2 separate regions of the Homo sapiens genome follow, and region 2 is linked to region 1. Evidence: promoter capture Hi-C in 16 types of primary human blood cells and fetal thymus (Javierre and others, 2016). All regions are on one chromosome and are shown on one strand. The core of a region is centred on a gene start or on the middle of the fragment in contact, and the rest is flanking DNA. Distances in the headings are between cores, read along the strand shown.

Region 1 (5,826 bases), core at 2-2,501:
GGGAGGAAGGCTGCGCGCAAGCGAGGGACGGAGAGCCATCGGCCGCCAGGACAGGGCCGGAGGGACGAGGCGACACGCGCGCGACGCAGGACAAATCGGAGCTTGGGAAATCTCCCCGTCCCCCAAGCTTCAGAGGGGGGTAAAATCAGAAAATGTGTGTGATGGTGGGAGAGAGATCCGGGCGCGGCGACTCCTCGCAGCGCATCCGGCTCCCGCACCCACCCGTGGATCTGGCCACGGCTGTTGCGGACTCGTCTCGGGAAAGCGGAGGCCGAGCGCGCGTAGGGGTGCGTGTCTGGCTGGGGGTGCGCAGGTGCGTGTTTGAATTTTCCGGGCTCCGAGGGGGTGGCGGGAGAGCTTCCTCGCCGCTGACTCTCGGGGTAACGCGCGCGTGGCAGCGGGGAAGTTCCCCAGTGCGGGGCCCAGGGCCAGGCACCACAGTCAGTTTGCTGGGGCCCGCGGGGCAGCTCAAGGGCACCGAGGGGGCACACACCCGCGGGGAAAGAAGGGGAAAAGTTTGCTCCAAGTCTAAACTTTGGGCCTAGGAGGCGCCCGGCGCGCGCCCCCTCCCGCCGCGGCCAGGACCCGGGACCCCGCACCGGCCCCGCGCCCGGGCGGCCACCGGACGCCAACGCCGGACATCGAAAGTTGCGCCAGGCGGCCTGGGCTTATTGATTTCTCTCCCCTAGGCGATCGTGGAGAGCGCAGAGAGAGGCGTGAAGGGGCCTACGGGCAGGCGATCTCGCCTCCTCACAGTCGCCACCGCCCCCGCCCCCATTTGACTTATGCAAATAAACCCAAAGGGTGCGGGCGCCGCCGGAGCTCCCTCCACCCGCGCGCCGGCCCGCAGCCCCCACCCATCCCAGAGCTGGGCCTCGACCCGGGGGGGAGAGGAAGAGAGGGGAGGGCTGGGGGAGATGCACGTGGAGCCTGGAGGTGGAAAGTAGTTGTTTTTTTTTTTCCATTTTTTTTCTCTTTTTCTTTCTTTCTTTTTTTTTTTTTGTGCTGGTTGTTGTTGTTGTTTAAAGTGGCGGAAACAAGACAGGAGGCGGCTTGGGAAAAAGTGGAGCAGAAATGGAAAAATACAAACTCACCCGCTGCAAATGGTCTCTCGGTGCAAACTAAGGTGTTTTCGGGCCTTTCCCCGCGCGCGCCCACTCCCGCCCGCGCGCGCACCCCGCGCACACACTCACTCGCGCACACACGCGCGCACACACGCACTCCCGGGCGAGGGCCGGGCCGCCGCGAGTACAGCGTGCAACCGCCACACAATAAATAACAATAGATTCCTCCGCTCCGGACTAGCTTCCCGGAGCCCAGCCAGCGCCGGTGGCGGCGGCGGCGGCGGCAGAGGCGCGGGCAGCACCGGCCCGGGGGCGCACCCCGGCCCGACCCTCTACCTCCCGCAGGGGTCCCCTCTCCGCTTCACGCACCCCGCTGGGCACTCCAGCGGCCCCCCGAGCGGGAGCGGCTCCCTCTTTGCCGTTCGCCGGGGCGCTGGCGCCCACCCCCCTCCTCCCTCCCCCCTCCCCCCCGACATCCCGGAACAAATAAATAAATAAGGCGCGCGAGAGAGGCCAACACGTCGCGGAGGGAGATGTTGTTATTTTTTGCTGTTGTGCGTCCCTGACGTCACATCCACCTGCTGGGTAAACAACCGGGCTCCCAGAAAAAAAAAATCGCAATTGCCAAAGAATGGGGGGGGGGGTTGGGGGGAGGGATCCAGGGAGGGGGAAGTGAGGGGCGTCCAGGCAGGATTGGAAAGAGGAGAGGGAGGCAGAGCCCCGCGGACCAGAGAGAGGAAGGGAACGCCAGAGCAGTCCCTGGCAACAGAGGGATCTGGCAGGAAAGACCTGGAAAATAAGGGGCAGGGGGGCGGAGGGGGAGATTCCTCAGGAGATGGGAAATGGGGGGCCCATTCAGACAGCGGAAAAAACGAGAAGGGAGAGTGTTAACTAGGGACGAAGATGGGAATGCGATGGCTATTTGCTTGGATTCTGAGCTAAAAATATGAAAGGGAGGGGAGAGGACAGGCTAGAATGTGAGTTTCCTCCAGTTAAAAGTGAAAGTGTTTTGCCATCAGTGACAGTTGAAGGAGAGCGGGGTGGGAGGTGGTGTTTTCAACCCCCTTTCTCCCTCTCTCCCGTCCTCCCTCGGTCTCTCCTCTTTCTTTCTGCACTTTGTCCAATGAAAGAAGGCGAGTTCGGGAGGTGAAAGTTCAGCAGAAGGACAAACCCCTGTTTGCAAGGAAACAGAAACCCCGCCAGCCAGCGAGGGGTTTTCTCCCCTGTTTCTCGGAATCAGGAGAGTGTGAATGTGGGACGAGCTTCTGCCCCCTTGTCAGAGCCACTGCAGGAATGTGCAATCGAGTCCACTTTGGGGGAAGGTGGCTGCATCAGGAACTGTGTTCTTGCCACGACTCCTCTTAGGAAAACGCCTGGGGGCTAGCATGTCAGTCCGTTGTTTAACACAAATTACCTGCTCTCCCAGTGATCAGTCACGTGCAAAAAGCTTTGTCCAATTCTTTGAAAAGGTGAGATTTTTTTTTTTCTTTTTGCGGTTTTTGAAGTTTGGTTGAATTTAGAAATTCGAAGGAATAAACTAAGAGCCTGAATTAAATGTTTTGAAATATACATACATAAAACAAAAGACACTAGTATTTCTTTCACTTTTATCAATACGCATAGAGAAGGAAGCAGAGTATGTGTTTCCAAAACGTGACTTGGAAAGCTGTAAGACCTCTATGTCTTGTTGTTGTTGTTGTTGTTGTTGTTAACAGAAGTAAATTTTTTCAGACCCACCACCACAGAAGTGGCCAGACTCCCAAACCAGCATTTCCAGCTACTGGCTGGCTGGTGTACACCAGGCCAATTCTTTATGAGAATATATTAAAAGTCACCCCTGTGGATTCCTACAAAGTACTTCCCCTTGCGGGGAGGGGAGAGGCTTACTGTCCCTTTGGTCTTGAGACCAGCACAGTTGTAGATAATATCCTGAAAAGGTTATTATTAAATTCTTTCGCGTAATGCCCCTTTACAAATATTGTTAAACATTAATTTACAGAAGAACTTAAATCTTAATTTCAAGGGTGGCATAAGACTATCGCTTTGAAATTGTATCTTTCGCAAGTTAAAAAAAAAAAATAACAAAGCCATTCGCTGATGCTACAGAATAAAAGAAAGGGAGGCTGCTAAGGTAATTTCAGCCTGGTAGAATTCACATTGCATGCATGCTGCATAAAGTTCCATGCTATCCAGATAAGACTATTCACTGAATCTTTTAGACTAGAATCTAGACCAATAAAATGCATTTTAGTTTGTATGGAATGTCCTAGCTTCCTAGAGGCTAGGGTTCGACGTCTTGTTTGTCAAGACATAAAGGGATTAATGACATACCCACTGTGTGCTAGACCACAGAGTGGGCACAGAGGGATGAAAAAATAAAAATTCCTGCCCTTGAGGAGCTCACAGTCTAAGCTGTCAATAATAACATCTAACATTTATTAAATACTATGATCTAGGCACTGAACTAAAAGCTTTATGTCAACTCAGTTAATACTGCCAACAACTCTTTGACATCACTGGAAATTCCATATGCTGAATTCACACGGAATTAAGTGGAAATCTACAAAGTAGCCAGTCTACTGGTTCTGTAGTGGTCAACCTATTAAAAATGGTTTTTAATTTCTAAAGTACTTTATGCCAAATATAACATGTTTATGGTATATGCCTGACTGTAGAATTATAACTCAGGGGAATAACGACTTATTTAAATGTAACAGATCTATTCATAGTCTGTAAAGAACAATTCATCCTCTGATCTTGTTTTTCAGATTAAGCAGTGTGTTTATTAAAAATTATTATCATCGCAATACTAAAAAGATCTTTAGATTGCTGCTAATCTGATTCTGCATTTTAACTGCCTTAAATTCTACATTCACTTGCAAGTGGGGGCCACAGTCAGGTTGGCAACAAGTTTTGCAGACAAAAGGAAATCCTGGTTGTAAATCCCATGATATATTGTACTCAATTTTGTATGATACTGTCTAATGTGCTGTGCTGCCTTATTAAAGAACTCGATGTCCATTTGGTTTACATTAGAGGGAAACTTAACTGCAGCTTAACATATTGTTCATTTTCAACACTGTCACGTTACATTCGTGGGGGGCAGATTTTAATTTCTTTATCAGTAATCAACTGGAAGTTTCTTTTTGTTAAATTAAAGCAAGAAAGGTTTTAAAATAAAGGGCATGGGGGTAGGACGCCACCTTTTGGTGATAAAACAAATAGAAATCCCTTCTGAAAACAGATGTTCCTGACATAATTTTATTTTTAATTACACCAAGGCAAAGGTGCTTGTCCCCATTTCGTTATATTTTAAGTAACAGGAGAAAAAAAAAACCAATGTAAATGCAAAATTAGCAAATTATAGTTAACTGCAGCCAAAATTTTCCCAAACGTATCAGAATATGTTAGTCCCCTGTCACATTACTGTTGATTGTATACACCAAACATGAGCTTCATTCACCAAATACCATGTCACTAAATATATGTACATTTGGGGAACAGAAACTGGAGTGGACATTTACCACCTGACGACGTACCTGAATGCTCTTGTAAGTTTTGAGTTGAACAAAAACTAAAACCACTTAATTTAGTGTTTCTTTAACCACAGTTACTGGTGTCCTGATTTTTGCCATATCTATATGACATAACAGTTCCCGAATAATTAATATACCATACTCATTGGAGGCCACTTATTATGGTAATTGTAGCAAACATTTTCATTTAAATCAACCTTCTTTTAATTTTTTTCTATTACTGCCTTAAATGGGAAATCAGTATCACCCACCATAAATTAAAAACAAGCACAGTAAAAACAAAGTCACTGATTTCTCTTTGAGGGTCAAAACAAAAATTAAAAATGATTTTTGAAAAAAGGAGGGAGAGTGGCAAATGTTGAGAAGGGTTAAGGACAAGAGTATCAATGGAAATTTTTGAATTTTTGTTTTTTCTCTCTCTTTTTTTCTGTTTTTTTTTTTTTTTTTTTTTTAACAACCAGAAGGATTTAAAGTGATCGGAAAGGAATACAGTTCTCAATGTGTGATTCAGTGTTATGCCATCCTAGTGCCAAGGTTCCTACACTTTAAAAAACATGGGCATAACTAAGAATATCGCATTACAGATGAGGAATCTAAGGCCCAGGGATTTCATTTGCCCTCCAAGGCAAAATAAATTTGGTTACTGGTTGGACAAGGATTAGAATCCAGGTGTCCTGACTTTGTGGGTTTCCATCTCACTCTTTCCACTAAAGTGACCAATCCTCAGACTTAAGTGGTTTGTCTAGCTTCTCAGAAACAGCTAACCTACAGACCCCTTTACAGATCTGGGAGAAACTGAGGCCACAGAGGGTCAAGAACAAGTTCAACCCCCTGCTCACCGTCCTTTCTCTCCACCCTCTCTCCATAGATGTGACAGACATCCAGGTGGGGGTCAACACAGCAAAGAAAGAAGGGAGGGTTGAGAAGAGAAAAGTGGATTCAGAGAGGGGAGGTTAGTAAGCGTGGGCAGACCATTCTCTAAATGAAAGCTTAAACTCAGTTGCCTTCCAAGAAGATAAAAATGGCTAATGAAAATCATGTGCTTCACAGTAAGTGGTAAGAGGAGCCCATCCTCTGTGTCCTCATGTCCCTATATGTCCACACCGGAAATCAGCAGGGGATCTCTTGTTTTAAAGTATACAATATTAACAGGCACACTCTGAGACAAAACCACATTTGATAATTTGAGTGGGTGGAAAAGCTAGTCAGGGAACGGGGAATGACCC
Region 2 (6,344 bases), core at 3,786-6,285, 220 kb before region 1:
TCTAAAGATGACACTACAATTTTCTCTGAGGGAAAAAAAAAACTAGAAGATTCATGAATTGGGATTCTGATTAACCCTCTATTCCCAAAGCTGTTTGTTTAAGTATGACTTGCCTTCTTAATTAGTATTGCTAGCCCAGGGAAGCATATTTGCTGAGCCTGTCTCTCTGTTTTGACATGCAAGACTTGTGAAATTTAAACATACTTGTAGGCATCCAAAGCATTATTATTTATTAAGGCCTATATTAAAGGTGAGATCTTACAGCACTCTCAGATTCTGATGATTAAAGGAAATTTAATCGTTCTTCATTGGCATTTGATCTTTAGCCTACCATAATCTACCCGCATATCCCTTCATCCATATTTGATACTAAAAAGAAAGACATTTCAACAGCTAGTCCATCAACTGTAAAATAGAAGGAACGTACAGACAAACCACATTACTCAGAAAATAAGAGAGCTTTCCCCCACACTCATTTCGCTCATGAAAGCCCAATGTGATTAAAAAGGTGAAGAAGTCACACTCCACAAGGTGAACCAGAATGACTGTAGAGCCGATCATCACATTCGTAAGGAGTTTCGAAATTTTCAAAGTGCTTTCACATGCATTATATCTTGTTTCATCCTTACAACACCATCTTTCAAGGTAGTAAGGGCAGGTATATATTTTTTATTCCTGTTTCTCGCAGATAAATGGTTTGCTCAAGGTCAGACGGAGTGGTACCCAGCGAGGTGTCAGGTTTACAGGTCAAATGTCCGTTTTTGATGCATCCAATCAAGGGACAGCCTACTATAGTCTTCAGGCCAAATATGGCTTACTGTCTGTTTTTGTAAATAAAGTCTCACTGGAGCACAGTGACACCCCTTTGCTTGTATATTATCTATGGCTGCTTTTGTGCTCTAAAGGCAGAGTTGACTAGTTGCAAAAAAGACTGTATGGCTCATGAGGATGACAATATTTCCTATCTGGCCCCTTACAAATTTTACCAACCCCTGCATTAGGTCACCTTCCCACAAATATGATCCCCGTTATGAACCCTATTCTTGAAAACCATAAAGCTATCATGGGGGGTAGCAGCATTCAAATGCCTGCTAGCTTCAGAATCAGGGCCTGATAATTAGAAAGGCCATTATCTTCTGCAGGATTACTATATCGACCACTGGGTCCCCCGCAAAGGTAGATGGCAATTTTTAGGTGGTATACAGCATCAGTGGTGTCTGTCACTTACCCTGAAATTTTAACGTGTCTCACAGCCATAAAAAGCCTGGGGTCACTGGGAGGGGGCATGCATAATGCCACAGGACTGCAACACACAGAGGGAAGCTGAAAGCAAAAAGAAAAGAAGAGGTTAAGTGAAGGGGCAAATGGTGATGCTTCAAAAGCAACACAGACACACGAGCCTTTGGTATCCCTCATTTACATACCACATTTACCTTCAGTATATAATCATGTATCTAAGCATCTATTTTATCCTTTGCCTTCTAGAATCAGCATTTGACCTAGCTCACAACCTGAATTACAGGAGGAGGATGCAAAATGTTATGTAGGTGAGTAAAACTGTCACTCTTGAAGGCACTGACATCCACTTAGGAAGTTAAGTTCCTTTATCTTCCGTACCATAATTTCTATTTCTTTTCTTTTTTCTGAGACAGGGTCTCGCTCTGCCACTCAGGCTGGAGTGCAGGGCACATTCAGGGCTCACTGCAGCCTCAACTTCCCAGTCTCAAGCGCTCCCAAGTACCTTGAACTATAGGTGTGCGCCACCATGCCCAAATAATTTTGGAATTGTAGTAGACAAGCTAAATTTTAGTAGGCCGGCTGGTCTCAAACTCCTGAGCTCAAGTGATACTCCTGCCTCAGCCTACAAAGTGCTGCAATTATTTTTCCAGACACAGTCTTCTTCTATCTCCAAGGCTAGAGGAGTGCAGTGGCATGATCTCGGCTCACTGCAACCTCCACCTCCCAGTTTCAAGCGATTATCCTGCCGCAGCCTCCCGAGTAGCTGGGATTACAGGTGTCCGCCACCGTGTCTGGCTAATTTTTGTATTTTTAGTAGAGACAAGGTTTCACCATGTTGGCCAGGCTGGTCTCAAATTCCTGACCTCAAATGATCCACCCGCCTCGGCCTCTCAAAGTGCTGGGATTACAGGCATGAGCCACCATGCTCGGCTTATAATTTCTTATTTCTCAAGATAAATTCTCATAATTACAGTGCTAATACATCCTGAGAAATAAGAAAAAGAAGATCCATAGGTCCAAATGATAATTTTGCCATGAGTTTTGATCTTTTAGCCTATCTCAATGCACTCAGTAGAAGAGACAGGAGGAAGTAAGTACATACATGGACACAGGCGCCCTACTAGCGAAACATACAAGCTCTCTCCTGACAGCCAAACAGAAAATCTTACTTGCCACAGTTAGCAACTCTTTTTTTTTCAGTTGCATTTCAAATGCAAAAGGAGACTGTGACACACCTTCTCATGGAAACAGTCACTCTGTTCATGTGCTGAGACTGCAAAGCTTTCATCGCTTGGTTAGGTTATTAGTAGAATATTTACCAAATCCAATTCCAAGTAAGTTGAAGTTGCTGACAGATAAGTCAACTCATCCTCAAGCACTTTCAGAAAGTTTTTGCGAATAGCTGTCAGTAGCAAGGTTTCACATGCCGGGTCTTTTCTGCATAGATCCTTGAGATAATAATGCCATCTATATGGTCCTCAAGATTAAATAAAGGACTCTCACTAATACAGAAAAAAAAAAATGGAACTATAGAATGGGTAGAAAGCCTGAGCTTTCAAGGCACGTACATGTACGTCTGTGTGCAGTGTTCTCTTTCAATAGTAAATTCAGGCAATACTTTGTGAATTTACATGTTTTTAACCTACTCAGATGGAGAAGTTGAAACTAAAAAGGAGATGCACGAAGTTTTATGATTTGAATAGTCACCTGTCTCCGGAAACTATGTGGGCTGTCTGCCTACCAGAACTCAGAAGAGAGTTAAGAGATGGTGTTCCCAGTGGGTGTCTCTTCTAGATATGAGATAAACTCAGGCCAGATTTGTCCACACTATGTTTTCTAGGTATCTGGTGTCTAGTGTGCATAAACTCTTTGCACATGACTTCTGAATCTTCATTCTTATATGAGTTTAATGTGCTGTGTGGGCATTTTCCCTCTTGAGCAAGGGAGCTTAAGAGTATGATAAGAATGCATCAAAAATGTTTTTAAGATAATTTCAGTTGGTAAAGGCTGTAATCGTTCAAACTTAATTGGTGAACTCATTAATGAGCAACTGCCACTAAAAGAAAGATGACCATTGTCATCGACTTATCAGAGCAACGAGATAATGAAGTTAATTATATTGTTTTCAGTGGATTTACACTGGCTGCCTTTTAGATTCTACATTTCCAAACATTTGTTCTGACACCCCATGAGTTTGGACTCTTAACAAAAAACTATGAGCTGTGGACTCCTCAAGGAACAGTCGGCAGATCACAGCCCCACGTCAGGGCAATGCAATTGGAAAACTTTTCTCCCCTTTATTATCTACTTGTAAAATGTTATAAGCCTGTAAACTAGTTAATTTATGAGCCGTGTTAATAATTTGCTCACACTCGATTGCAGGTTTGGCAAACACAGTTTCCAAGGGATGTGGGAGGATAATTTGTAGGTCCGGCTTCTCTCCTAAGGGGACACTAACTAATTTGACACAGTAACATGACATTGATGGCGGGGCACACTAATGACCATTCTCCAAGACAGGGCTGTCAGCCTGTCGTTCCAGTGAGACGCCGGTCTGCTTTCACCGCTGCTCAGGACTGGATGCTCAACTAATTATTCAGACAGCGACATTAATGAGAGCCCTCATGTTTATTTTCAACAGACTAACCAGCGCTTAGCTTCCATTTGTCTGATATGGTCACTGATTAAAATGTGTTTCATGAATAGTAAATTTGAACTCTAATATAACAAAGAAGCACCGGAGAAAAATAAGGAACAGCTGACTGGAAAACCAACCTCGTCCAAGCAATTTGTTTTCTGCCCCATATATCGTCAAGGACAAAGTGACAGGTAGTGGGAAATGTCATGGAGTACCAAGAAAAGTGAGTGGAGTATTTTTAATTACACATGTCTGTGGACAAGTCTGACTTTTGACTAAGGCCCCTGGATCACAATATGGCCAAGAGCAGCTTCCATCTCAAACAAACTTCACTAACTGTATGATACTGAATGAAAATTTGTGTTTTATTATTTATTCATTTATTTATTTTTGAGATGGAGTCTCGCTCTGTCACCAGGCTGGAGTGCAATGGTATGATCTCGGCTCACTGCAACCTCCACCTCCTGGGTTCAAGCAATTCTTCTGCCTCAGCCTCCCGAGCACCTGGGACTACAGGTGCCCACTGTAATGCCCAGCTAATTTTTTGTATTTTTAGTAGAGGCGGGGTTTTGCCGTGTTAGCCAGGATGGTCTGGATCTCCTGACCTTGTGATCCACCTGCCTCAGCCTCCCAAAGTGCCAGGATTATAGGCGTGAGCCACCGCGCCCAGCCCTATTATTTACTTTTTTGAGAAAGGGTCTCACTCTGTTGCTCAGGCTGCAGTGCAGTGGCATGATCTCTGCTCTTTGCAGCCTCAATCTCCCAGGCTCAAGCCATCCTCCCACCTCAGCCTCCCAAGTAGCTGAGACTACAGGCAGGTGTCACTATGTCTGGCTAATTTTTGTATTTTTTGTAGAGACAGTGTCTCACTGTGCTGCCCAGGCTGGTCTGAAACTCCTGGCCTCAAGCAATCTGCCTGCCTTTGTCTCCCAAAGTGCTGGGACTACAGGCATAAGCCATCATGCCCAGCCTGAATGAAGATATTTAAAGTTAGTATTTTCCAGGAAATGACCAAAATTTGCTTATGTGTGTTTTTTGAACCTTACAAACTTTGATCTTTGATTAGTCTATAATATGATCTTCACAAACATTAATAAATGCTGTTGTATTTTTTCCAAATCTACTGTAAAACTATACTGCTGAGGGTGTCTTAAAAAGTGTTTTTTAATGTCTTCTTTTATGTCTTGTTTCTAGTCTACTAAACCTTGTAATCAAGTTCTTTGTACTTTAAATTAAATTTCTATTTTGGTGTGATAAATTTTGTCCTTCATTTTAGGGTGATTATAATCCTAAAATATTCATATAATCATGATGTAAATGAATAACTTTAAAAAAAAAAGGTGTGTTTAGATCTATTAAAGGTGTTAAAAAATTGAAAATTTTTTCAATTTTTTATTGATATAATTCTGATATAATTCATTGTAAAATGTGCAATTCAAAATAAGTAACAGTGGTAGTATTTCAACAGATGTTCTATCTGCCATCACGGATAAAGAATTCTACTCAATATTGTGTACAACTTCTTATTTTATAAAATAGCAAAATAAATTTGAGTACACGTAGATCACTTTGGGAAGGAAAATGTCACTGCATGCAACATTTCTTAAGTATGTATTCCTAAACTTACTCACTCTGAGATAGATCTGTCATTTTAGAACGCCAAAATGCCTAAATGGCACACAACATGTGGGAAGTAGATTCAGACTGCAGGCTAATTTTTTAAATATATTTAAACAAGTAGGCAGATAAATTGTTCCAAACCAGCACGACTGTCTTTAAATGCTGCCCTTCCCAGGGGACTTGTTGGAGACAGGTTCTCAGATTATCAGCACCTCTGGGCAGTTTATGTATGGTAAACATTTGTCCTCCATAATAATACAAGAAAATGCGGTCAGTCTGTGGCAAAGACCAGCTAAACGTTCATCAAATCCATTTCTTTTTCCTGAACACACAGCTGGAATGCATTTCCCAGCATCCCTTGTAGTTAGGTGGGGCCTGGTGACTGAGTTCTAACCAAATAGATGGAAGTGGGTATACACTACTTTCATTCAGATCCTGAAGCCTCTGGCACCCTGCCTAATGACTGCTTTCTTCCCTGGATCGTGGGCGCAGAGATCCAGTAGAGAATGCCTAGTTCCTGGAGATAGTGGAGTCACTGGATGGAATTCGCCTGGGTCCCTGAAAGACTACATGGAGCAGAGCCACCACCGCTCCAGTCCCCCTCAACCAGCACTAACAGTGGGAGGTGCTCACCCATTAAACTGCACTGAGTTAAGCTCCCGAGCAGCTGGGACTACAGGCGCGTGCCATCACACCCGGCTAATTTCAAAAATTTCAAATTCTGGAATGTTGGTTACAGCTGCTAGTATCTCTTACCCAAATACATGGACCTTTCCAATTTCTCCCTGGCTTTTACTTGGGTCTCCAGGTAACCATAAGTAAGCAGAAGCTCTGTCAATTTGGAACA

Evidence for each region. The method cuts DNA at HindIII sites, captures the fragments that hold promoters and counts their contacts. A CHiCAGO score of 5 or more calls a contact.
Region 2: a contact is called between a fragment that was not itself captured here and the fragment with the promoter of FOXP1 in region 1, in 2 of 17 cell types (total B cells and naive B cells). The highest score is 6.3, in total B cells.

What each region holds. Positions count from the first base shown.
Region 1 is chr3:71,582,477-71,588,302 of GRCh38, forward strand. It overlaps FOXP1 (forkhead box P1), which reads right to left and starts at 1,252. Exons shown (of 21, transcript NM_001349338.3): 1 at 1,095-1,252. It overlaps FOXP1-DT (FOXP1 divergent transcript), which reads left to right and starts at 2,467. Exons shown (of 1, transcript NR_182289.1): 1 at 2,467-4,933. RefSeq lists a silencer at 1,125-1,364 and an enhancer at 1,442-1,736. The HindIII fragment of the contact is 2,384 bases long and covers 126-2,509 here.
Region 2 is chr3:71,357,922-71,364,265 of GRCh38, forward strand. FOXP1 (forkhead box P1) reads right to left here. Exons shown (of 21, transcript NM_001349338.3): 4 at 1,229-1,323. Among named protein-coding and RNA genes, the nearest start is that of FOXP1-AS1, 71 kb to the left of the region's middle. The HindIII fragment of the contact is 5,034 bases long and covers 2,519-6,344 here.